Regions from separate parts of the Homo sapiens genome. Here regions 1 and 2 are each linked to region 3. Evidence: promoter capture Hi-C in human tissues and cell types (Jung and others, 2019). All regions are on one chromosome and are shown on one strand. The core of a region is centred on a gene start or on the middle of the fragment in contact, and the rest is flanking DNA. Distances in the headings are between cores, read along the strand shown. Region 1 has its middle 310 kb from the start of LINC02438. Region 2 has its middle 280 kb from the start of LINC02438. Region 3 holds the start of SLIT2 (slit guidance ligand 2).

Region 1 (3,680 bases), core at 741-3,240, 1.1 Mb after region 3:
CTAGGCACACAGGATACTCTTTCATGATCACATGTATAATCATAATCAGTTTTAGTTTATAGAATAGACTCTTTCTTTTTCATATACCTATACTCATATAGATAGATAGAAACAGGCATATCGGAGAGACTGAAAATACTTCTTACAAATACTGAGTTGTTCAAGTACCACATTGTTTGAAGAGAGGACCTTTTTATATTTCTGTAAATTGTGCCCAGAAGAAGAGAAGACTAAAGTAAACATTTCTACCACTTTACTTACCTTTTCGTTATCTTTCCAAATTCCAACCATTCTGCAGAGAATATTCATTAAGCATCTGCTGTATCAGGTCCTGGTTTCCAGATGAATAAGGCACCATCTCTACTGTTCCCAAATCCAGCATCTGCAGAAGTACCCATGGATATAAAGAAGCATTTGTAATAAACGTGGACAGATGCTATAGCAGATTTGTGGATTTTATAGAGCAGTATATTGATTTTACTTGAAAACTCAAATTTGGTTGCCAGCTTTTGATTTTGCCAGACATTAAGATAACTAATTACAAATGCATTTTTATAACCTAGGGGAAAAATTAACACTGAATATATAAAACATACTTTCAGATTAAGTCAGATTCTTAAATTGATATATTTATCTTATTTTCTTTTTGCCAAATAATATTTATTAATAGCTGAAATCTACATTAAAATAACATATTTTGCCTATCTAGTTGACAAAGATGAAAAATAGATGTATTATGATTATTGACAAAGGGTGTTCTCAAATATGTGCTTTTAGTCACAGTGTGGGAAAATGTGAATGAATGTGTGTGTGTGTGTGTGTGTATTAGTACATACGTTAGTACCTATACTTACATCTATATACCTACACAGGTACATAATTTGTATCACCCCATAGCTATAGCTTTGTAGCCTGCTCTTTTTAAATCTTAACTTCATATTTTGAGTATTTATTTTGTCATTAATGTTACCTTTTGTTCTTGATTTTAGCAGGGGTACATGTGCAGCTTTGTTATATAGGTAAACGAATGTCACGGGGATTTGTTGTGCATATTATTTCATCATCCAGGTACTAAGCCTAGTATTCAGTAGGTATTTTTTTCTGATCCTCTCCCTCCTCTTAACCCCCACCCACAAGTAGGCCCCAGTGCCTATCATTCCCATGTTTGTGTCCATGTATTCTCATCATTTAGCTCCCACTTATAAGTGAGAACACACAGTATTTGGTTTTCTGTACCTGCATTAGTTTACTAAAGATAATGACCATTAGCTCCATCTGTGTTCCCAAAAAGACGTGGTCTTATTCTTCTTTATGGCTGAATAATATCCACGGTGTATATGTACCATATTCTGTTTATCCAATATGTCATTGATGGACATTTAGGTTGATTCCATGTCTTTGCTATTGTGACTTGAGCTGCAATGAATGCTCATGTGCATGTGTCTTTATGGTAGAATGATTTATATTCCTTTGGGTATATATCAAGTAATGGGATTGCTGGGTCAAATTGTACTTCTGTTTTGAGGTTTTTGAGGAATTGGCACACTGCTTTCCACAATGATTGAACTTACTTACACTCTTACTAACAGTGTATAAGCATTCCCTTCTCTCCGCAACTTCGCCAGCATGTTATTTTTTGACTTCTTAGTAATAGCTATTCTGACTGGTGTGAGATAATATTTTATTGTGGTTTTGATTTGCGTTTCTCCAATGATCAGTGATACTGAGCTTTTTTTCATATGCTTGTTGGCCGCATGTATGTCTTCATTTGAAAACTCTCTGTTCATGTCCTTTGCCCACTTTTTAATGGGGTTGTTTGTTTTTTTTCTTGTAAATCTGTTTAAGTTCCTTACAGATGTGGATATTAGACCTTTGCTAGATGCATAGTTTGTAAAAATTTTCTCTCATTTTGTAGGTTGTCTGTTTATGCTGTTGATAGTTTATTTTGCTGTGCAGAAGCTCTTAAGATTAATTAGATCCCATTTGTTAATTTTTGCTTTTGTTGCAATCATTTTTGGCATGTTTGTCATTACATCTTTTCCGTTTCCTATGTAGGACTTTATTTTTAAAATCACAGTTTTTCACTTTTTTTTGTTTGTTTTACCACAAACTGCTGAACACTTCATTTCTTGTTATAGACCATGGCCTTCAGATCTTCACAGTGAAATAGGCATGAAGAGAGATACAAAGGCTCTTAAGAGATACAAAGTAGAGAGCAGGCCATCTCCCAGAGACTCCAGTTGGAGGATTTTATGTGACTGTTTATCCCTGGAGTTGTGGCCTGGGGAACAGAAGTGAATTCCAGGAAGGTACGGGGAGTATGGAGATCACCAGGAAACTCTACTCACAGGACATTGTTCAAATGCTGATCCATAAACAATGACAAGGTATTAACAGTTAGGCAGAGAATGGGAGGGCTGGAGATGGTTTTCCTGGTAGAGAAAGCAGCTCCAGCAAAGGCAGATAAATACAAAAGAGCACAGCACTGAAGCCGCTCATTGTCAAAGGGAACATATTTGGTGAGGGTCCCAATAGAGGAAAGGATGGGAACATGGAACTTGTCATCCCTCTTTCTGCATAATTTCTTTTCAGGATGCTGTTTTTCATGAATAAGAACTGACTGTTTTAATACCTGAGGTGGCTGAATTGCCTTATGTTATATGAGAGCAACACTTTTAGACTAAATTAAATTGGTATCAGTCAGGGTTCTTTAGAGGGATGGAACTAATTTATATATATATATATATATATATATATATATATATATATATATATACACACACACACACACACATATATATATAATACACACACACACATATATATGTGTGTATATATGTATACACACTGGAGCTAAAGGGGCGTACATATATATGTATGTGTGTGTATATATATTTATATATATGTGCATATATATGTGTACATGTAATATATAATATATATGTATTTATATATAATATATATCATATATGTATTAATATATAATGTATATGTATGTATATATGTATATATACACACACATATGTGTATATGTGTGTGTATACTTTCAGGAAAGTGTATGTGTGTGTGTGTGTGTGTGTGTGTGTGTGTGTGTATATATATATATATATATATATATGAAAGGGGAGCTTGTTAAGTATTAACTCACACAATTACAATGTCCCTCAATAGGCTGTCGGCAAGCTGAGGAGCAAGGACAGCCAGTCTCAGTCCCAAAACTGAAGAACTGGGAGTCTCTTGCTTGAGGGCAGGAAGCATCCAGCAAGGGAGAAAGATGTACGCTGGGGGGCTAGGCCAGTCTAGTCTTTCCACGATTTTCTTCCTGCTTTATATTCTAGCCATGCTGGCAGCTGATTAGATGGTGCCCACCCAGACTTAGGGTGGGTCTGCCTTTCCCAGCCTATGGCTCAAATGTTAATCTCCTTTGGCAACACCCTCACAGACACACCAGGATCAATACTTTGCATCCTTCAATCCAATCAAGTTGACACTCAGTATTAACCATCACAAATTTCAATACCAATTGTGATGTCAAATATAAAATAGCAGCTCATTCTAAGCATTTTTGTATAAATTGTGATGGGATAGACTTTCCTGTCACATGCTGCAGTGAAGAAAAGGAAAAAATCATTCCAAGAATAAAGAAGAGGTTTGAAACTACCTTCATAACGCAATTCATG
Region 2 (3,195 bases), core at 440-2,939, 1.1 Mb after region 3:
TCATACTTCCACATAGCTATATCCCTAAAACTCCATGCTATCCTGAACACATATTTTACAGCCCTGCTTTTGAAACATGAATGTAATTCAGAAAGAGAAAAAAAATGGAACAGATAGTATAGTTCTACTATGTTTCAAGGAGCAAAATGAAAAATGAAAATATCCAGAATTTGGAAATGCTGTCTAGTGTGGTAGATTGACTACTGGCAACTCACTCCCATCCTCACCCCTGCTATATTCTCATTATATCACAGTGGCTTGAACCTTGGAAGACGTAATTTCCCGATTTTTCTGGCTCATTGGGCAAAGCTCAGGGTCTGCCTGTAAGAGGTACTCATATGAGATTTAGAACATGGCTAGAAAGGAGTAGTCATTACCATTCTCCTATAGTAGAAGCTAGGGGAAATGTGGGCAGAGGGCAGAGGTACAGTTTTCAACAGGTTCTGAGTAAACTTCTTCAAATTACCTGCTTCATTTTTGAGATTATTGGCAACATCTGCACTCAATTTCCTTGTGTCCTAATTTTCCAGAAGTTAATAATTTCTCACTAACTATTGCTCCCATAGCACTTTCCATGGGTTTTCAAGTGACTATTCCTGCTTTAGATTCCTTCCTGTTAAAAATACTTGGGTGGTTTCTTTTTTTCCTGTCCAAACTTTTAATGGTACGTTTTACCAACATCAATTTTCTTGGTGAGTGGGATTATATAGAGAATAGATGCAAAGTGATGATATTCATTCACTTATTCTTTATGTTGTTAAATAGATACAGAGTAATTAAAATATACCACGTTCCAGAGTTGACTAGTAATGGTATACTGTCAAGGCACATAGAGTCTAAGTGAAAAAATTAATTCAAACGATGTCAATACAAGTTAAAATGGATTCAGTTCTATAAGAGAAGAAGGAGTGTTGTAAATGTCCACAATAAAATAGGATTTGATCCTTCATTCTGATACTTTACATTCTTGGAATCTGTTTTTTCAGCCAGGACATTGGTCAAACTTTTCTATTTGCTGCTGATGAATTTGAACTACATGTTACTGCTATACACATTCAAGTCATTACATGAATTTATAATTAAATATTTAGTATTTGCATGTGTTTATGTGTGTGTGTTTGTATGTGTGTGTGTGTCTGGAGAATGAGAGGAAAAAAGAGAAAAAGAGAGAAGGCCAAGAGAAAAGCATTATCATTGATCTTGCAGAGATCACTTAGGTTGCCATTGACCCAATTTACATCTTATAGTCTAATGATTCTCAAGGAAATTGTGTTTAGCATTTGAGACGAGACACTTTTATGAAGGACCATCCAATGCACTGCAAAACAATGTGGCATTTCTGGCCTCTACCTACTAAATGCCTATAGGACCCTTAAATCATTGCAACAACTCAAATACTAATATACTATATTATGTCTCCAGACATCTATTACATACCATCTCTATGATGCTCCTCTCAAAAGGAAACAATGTTAGCATGAAATAAATTAATGTTGTATACCTTATCCACTGTAATCATTGCCTGACTCTTGATTAGCAATTGTCTTCTAATGCTTACAGTTCAATAGTTAAATTGCGTTTAACCCCTAATTAAAACAAGATGTCATTTCTGCCTATGCAATTAGGAAATGTTTAGAAATTTTAATATTTGATGGTAATGAGAATACAATAAAATATGAAGCTTCATAAGTTGGGTATGGAAGGGTAAGTTACTCCAAAGTTTCTAGATGACAAAACCTATGTGCATCAGCAGTCTTAAAATACATGTTTATTTTGATAAATTAAGTCTATTTTGGGAAACTCATATCTTGTCTGTGACATAAACAAGAATGAGGTCAAAGAGGTTCATTCCAGTGTAAAATATAATTGAAAACAATGTAATGGTCTAACAATGTAGGCCTTTAAGCTTATTTCCATTAAATAAACTTGAAACTTCGTATTATGGAATAGTATGCACCCACTACAAATGCACTTTATAAAATAATATTATCATAGGCAATATTAAATAAAAATGTTATGCTAGAAAATTACATTTAAATATCACCTCAATTCATCTAACTATGAATAAAGGTATACATAATAACATTGCTTTATAAAAACACATTAAAATATTTCACAATTCTTTTCTACCCATCTCACTCAGTGAAGGGGTAAAGAGATATTGGGATGTTGCATATGTTTGTCAGCATTTACTAGATTATGTACATGAAAACCAATGCAAAATTTCATTAGCTTACAACAAATATTCACTCACATTAAGTAAAGCTTGAGTTTTGTACCTCAAAGCATTCCAAAGCCTCCATGATTTCACTGGTCTTGGCTGGTCTTCTGTGAGCTTGGCTTGAGTGTGCAGACTGAGTTTAGATGTCCTTTGAAGGAACACTTTCTTCTTGAGTTACCTTTGGTGGAGGACAAGAACACAAGAGGGCAACGTGTTTCCAGTGATTCATTCCAACATGCATTCCAACAATGCAAGAAGATTGACAAAACAAAAACTTGCACTGCTCCTAAAAGCATAGGCTTGAGCACCACACTCAAACCAATCATATTTCTTTGGCCAAAAGAAGTCCATATGAAACCTAAAGTCAGTGGTTTGAAAAAAAATCTACTCCACATAAGTAATGATGACAAAGGAGATAAGTGGACAAACAATTCATAACAAATCTGAATAAATCTATCATTGCAAGGTGGAAGTTTCCTTGTTTTTATTTATTTATTTATTTATTGCTTCCCATTGTAGTATACTTTTCAAATTTGCTGTGTTCTACATTTTTTAATTTTAATTTTTTGATTTTTTTAAACTTTTAAGTTCAGGGGTACAAATGCAGGTTTGTTATCTAAGTAAACTTTTGTCATGGGGGTTTGTTGTACAGATTATTTCATCACCTATGTATGAAGCCTAATACCCATTAGTTATTTTTCCTGATACTCTCCCTCCTCCCACCCTCTACCTCCTGATAGGCCCCAGTGTGTGTTGTTCCCTTCTCTGTGTCCATGTGTTCTCTTGATTTAGCTCCCACTTATAAGTGAGAACATGCGGTATTTGTTTTTCTGTTCCCGTGTTAGTTTGCTAGGGATAATGGCATCCAGTGCCATCAAATGCAATCACAAGTATTTTACTTTTATACATAAAATTTTTAAATTCAAATATAAGACAGCATTTAAAATATCTATCATCATTTTTGCCAAAATTTG
Region 3 (3,605 bases), core at 265-2,764:
TCCTCTGATCCCACGCACGCTTCTGCAAATCCGATGCCAGTGGCGAAGGTACAAGACAGAAGAGGGGATCTCAATAGGTATTATGGCCCCGATCAAAGTGGGCTCCGGAAGCTAGAAGGCGCGGAAGCCCAGCGGGCCCGTAGCAGAGCGCGCGGGGCAACTGGGCATGGCGCGCGGGGGTGCACGGGGCGGACGCGCAGTTCTGGGGGCGCACGGCTCTGGACTCTGCTCACTCACGCGGCCTCTCCCTCGCCCTCGACTCCGCCGCAGCCTGGACCGGTCCTCGCGGTCTCCCGACAGCCAACGATGGTTTACAAACACACATGCACTTCGCTGAAGGATGTCTGGGCAATCCCGCCTCCCGCTCGGCGTCCTTGGCGACGCTCTGCACCAGGACCTGCCCCGAGGTCACGCAGAAAAGACAAAAGGGCAGTCGGGCCGCCGCAGCCGGGCAGAAATATCCACTAGTCAGCACTCCGGCGAGGAACTCCAAGAGGCCAAGTGGAGGATGAGAGCTGCTGCGAAGACTGAGTGGGGACTGACTGGGGGCGGACTTAAAAACCAGGCAGACCGGAAGGAGTGGAAAGGCAAAGGCCAAGGTTGGAGGTGTCAGCGTCCTGCTGGGGCGTACTGGAGAATGGCTCGGTGGCAGGTGGGCGGGTGGGATCCACTACTCCAGGCAGAGCCAGGCGGCAGCTGAATGGCAGTAGTGTGTGCGCGCGTGTCAACCCCGCTCGTCTCCCAGATAAGCCGCAGCTCCGCGGCAGACACCTGATGGCAAAGGTAGAAGAAACAAGAGCCGGGTTCCGGAGGGCGCAGAGCCACGGCCGGCCCCCGGCGGTCTCCCACTAGTGGTTCGTCCTTCTCAAAGTGCAGCAACTTTTCCCAGGCTTTGAATTCCGTCCCCCAAGGCCACAGTGGCGGTACCCCTGCCGGCGTGGCGACGCCGCCCGGCTCCTGGCGCTGCACCTGACGCGGCGGCCGCAGTCCCGGGTAGTCCTTCTCCTTCTAGCCCCTTCCCCTCTCCCGCTGCTTTCCTGGCCTCCCGCTCCAGGGAGCGAGGTCGGGGAGAGGGAGGGCGACGACTCAGAGCGGGGACTCGGTGGCTCTGCCGACTCCGGAGCCCCTGGCAAGTGTCTAAACAATAGGACGGACGCAGCAGCCCAAGTCTCGCTTGTCTGGAAGGAAGGTGGGTTGTTGTCGTAACTGGAGTTGTTCGCTGGGGCTGACTGGCGCTCAGCGTAGCCAAACAAAAACCCGGCCCGCGCCTCCGGAGCCGGCTGCGGGCCCCCGGCGCTCCCCTTTCTGCTCAGCACTCCCGCCGTGCCCAGAAAGCGCGGCAGCTTCGGCCTGCGCCTGGGCGCTTCGGCGCTCCCATGCCTCGCAGCTGCCTCCGCCTCCGCCGCCGCCGCCGCCGCCGCCTTCTTTTTTTTAACCACAGTCTGCGGCAGCCACCACCACCGCCGCCGCCAAGCTCCGCCGTCCGGGCGCTTCCCAAATAAATAACACCAAGTCCGAAGTTGAGCCGGCGCGGGCCTTATATAGCCGCCCGAGCCTCCGCCCCCTGACCCCGCCCCTCGAGGCCCAGGCCCGCCCCCTGGCTCCGCTCTGGGAGCCCGCACCTCGCTGGGGAGAGGGGAGAGGTGAGGCCGGGGCTGCCAGCGCTGGGCGGAGGCGGCGGCTGGCGGCGCGCGTTCCCGTGCGCCCTGGCTCGCCCCCTCGCTCCCACGCGCGGGCAAACTTGGCCCGAAGAAGGAGCCACCCGAGCCCCAGCCCCCAACTCCTTGGCCCCAGAGGTGACCTGGGCTCGGAGATAGTCGTTTGCAGTGGGAGAATGGGAAGAGGTCGGCTTTGAACGCGGCTCATAAATAAACAGCCCTGCCAGTGCCTCTCCTGCAGCTTTTGCCACGCGATCCTTAAGGGGGCTGCTCACTCTTTGCAGCGCAGCAAGAGACAGAGAGACAGAAACAGAGAAATTATGATTTAAATTTAAGAAAAATCCTACCGAAATAGATCTGCCTGCGCTTACAGACACACACGTGTATTTTGGGGAGCTGAAAAGTTCAGTTTTTGCAAGTTGGAAAACAGCATTTTCCAACCTTCTTGCTTGCCTTTCTATCTCCAAGCCACCCCCTTCCGTTTAACCCTTCCTTTGTAGACACACACTGAACCACACCGTGGTCAGTTGATGTCTTGGATATTCAATAGGCTCACAAAACTCTTAAGGGCTTGAACGTATCTGTGTGATTTTTTACTCTCTTATGAGAGAAAGGAGGGGAAAAAATAAATCCCTAGCAACGCACATTATACCAGAAGGTTTTCTTTATTTCAGGGCAGTTCTGGATATTTTTTTCCCCGCTATGTTTTGAAAGAGAATTTCCTTGTTTCATCTTGTCTCTTTAGTGTGACGTATGTCTGGCAACGGCTGCCTCTCTCGCCCCCCTTTCCCCCCCAGCAAGAGCCAATGTCACTGTAAGTTTGAAATGACATCTAAATGACTCTGCTCCTTCTCTTGGATTTAATATGCATCATATTGTTGTTCTTCCTCCCATTTCCACGTTAAGAAGCTTTCCCTGGAATTTGTGCAAGCCCCCGCCTAATACCAGCCTCATATTGTAGTAGTTATTTGTATAATTATTAGAAGCTTCCTTGAAAGCAAGACCTGTCCAACTCTTTGTATTTCCAGCATCTATGCCTGCCACATAATAGGTTTCCTCATAAGTAACCGATTTCTTTAACTCAAGAGTATGCTCAACCTAAAATCTCTGCAATATCCTCATTAACGTTTTTCCTGGTTAACATTTTCTAAGATGTCCTTTCATAATGGCTACCCCTACTTACCTCATTTTGCCTGCCTTGGAAAACGTAAGCCTTTTCGAGGACACGCCCAAAGGCAGGGTACCATCTGATAACTGAATTGGAACTCTTAGGATTACTCATTTTAATGCCACAGATTTATATTGCTCTATTCTTTTAAAACCTTCAAAAACATTTGACATTTATTAACTCATTTGTCCTTCTAGATTTTAGCTTAAAGGTCTGTTATGTAACTTCCTTGAGGAGGAGAAAAAAGAAGCCCTTGTCACATTTTCTTGTAAGGAAAATGAGATAAAGAACAAGTACCTGTCATTGAGGAAGGAGCTCCCCCAACCCTCAGTGAATTTTCCTTAGTGTGTACCAGTAAATTATGTGGTTAAATATGGTTGCTGATACATTAATTTATTTAATTTCACAACTTTAATATCTTGTCAGCAACAAGAGGTGTTTGTGTTCAACTTTGTGCACCACATAGAATTGTTGTTCCATATTTTAATTCCAAGAACATATCCTGCATTCCAAATATTTATAAATAATATTATTGATATTGTTGCATAAGTGAAATTCACAGACATAAGTTCAAGTTTCATTCTATCTCTGATCACTTTCTGTTTTGTGTAAAACCAAGGAGAAACTAACATACATAGCAACATGCCTACAGAAACATCTTTTTAAAATTTGAAGCCAATTTAAATAAGAAGCTATGTTCAGTGGATTTCATTCAGAAAAAAGAAAGACTGTAATTAATTCTTGAGAGGCATATCTTACTATTTTTTGCGTTATTAACT

What was found. Contacts are between HindIII fragments. The study calls those that stand out against the background at their distance.
Region 1: a contact is called between a fragment that was not itself captured here and the fragment with the promoter of SLIT2 in region 3, in 2 of the 25 tissues and cell types used here (IMR-90 fibroblasts and heart left ventricle).
Region 2: a fragment that was not itself captured here is called in contact with the fragment with the promoter of SLIT2 in region 3 in 3 of the 25 tissues and cell types used here (mesenchymal stem cells, mesendoderm cells and thymus).

The regions. Positions count from the first base shown.
Region 1 is chr4:19,142,460-19,146,139 of GRCh38, reverse strand. No RefSeq gene overlaps it. Among named protein-coding and RNA genes, the nearest start is that of LINC02438, 310 kb to the left of the region's middle. The HindIII fragment of the contact is 8,731 bases long and covers 1-3,680 here.
Region 2 is chr4:19,174,218-19,177,412 of GRCh38, reverse strand. No RefSeq gene overlaps it. Among named protein-coding and RNA genes, the nearest start is that of LINC02438, 280 kb to the left of the region's middle. The HindIII fragment of the contact is 3,662 bases long and covers 1-3,195 here.
Region 3 is chr4:20,249,814-20,253,418 of GRCh38, reverse strand. It overlaps SLIT2 (slit guidance ligand 2), which reads right to left and starts at 1,514. Exons shown (of 37, transcript NM_004787.4): 1 at 1-1,514. RefSeq lists an enhancer at 1-398. The HindIII fragment of the contact is 10,378 bases long and covers 1-3,605 here.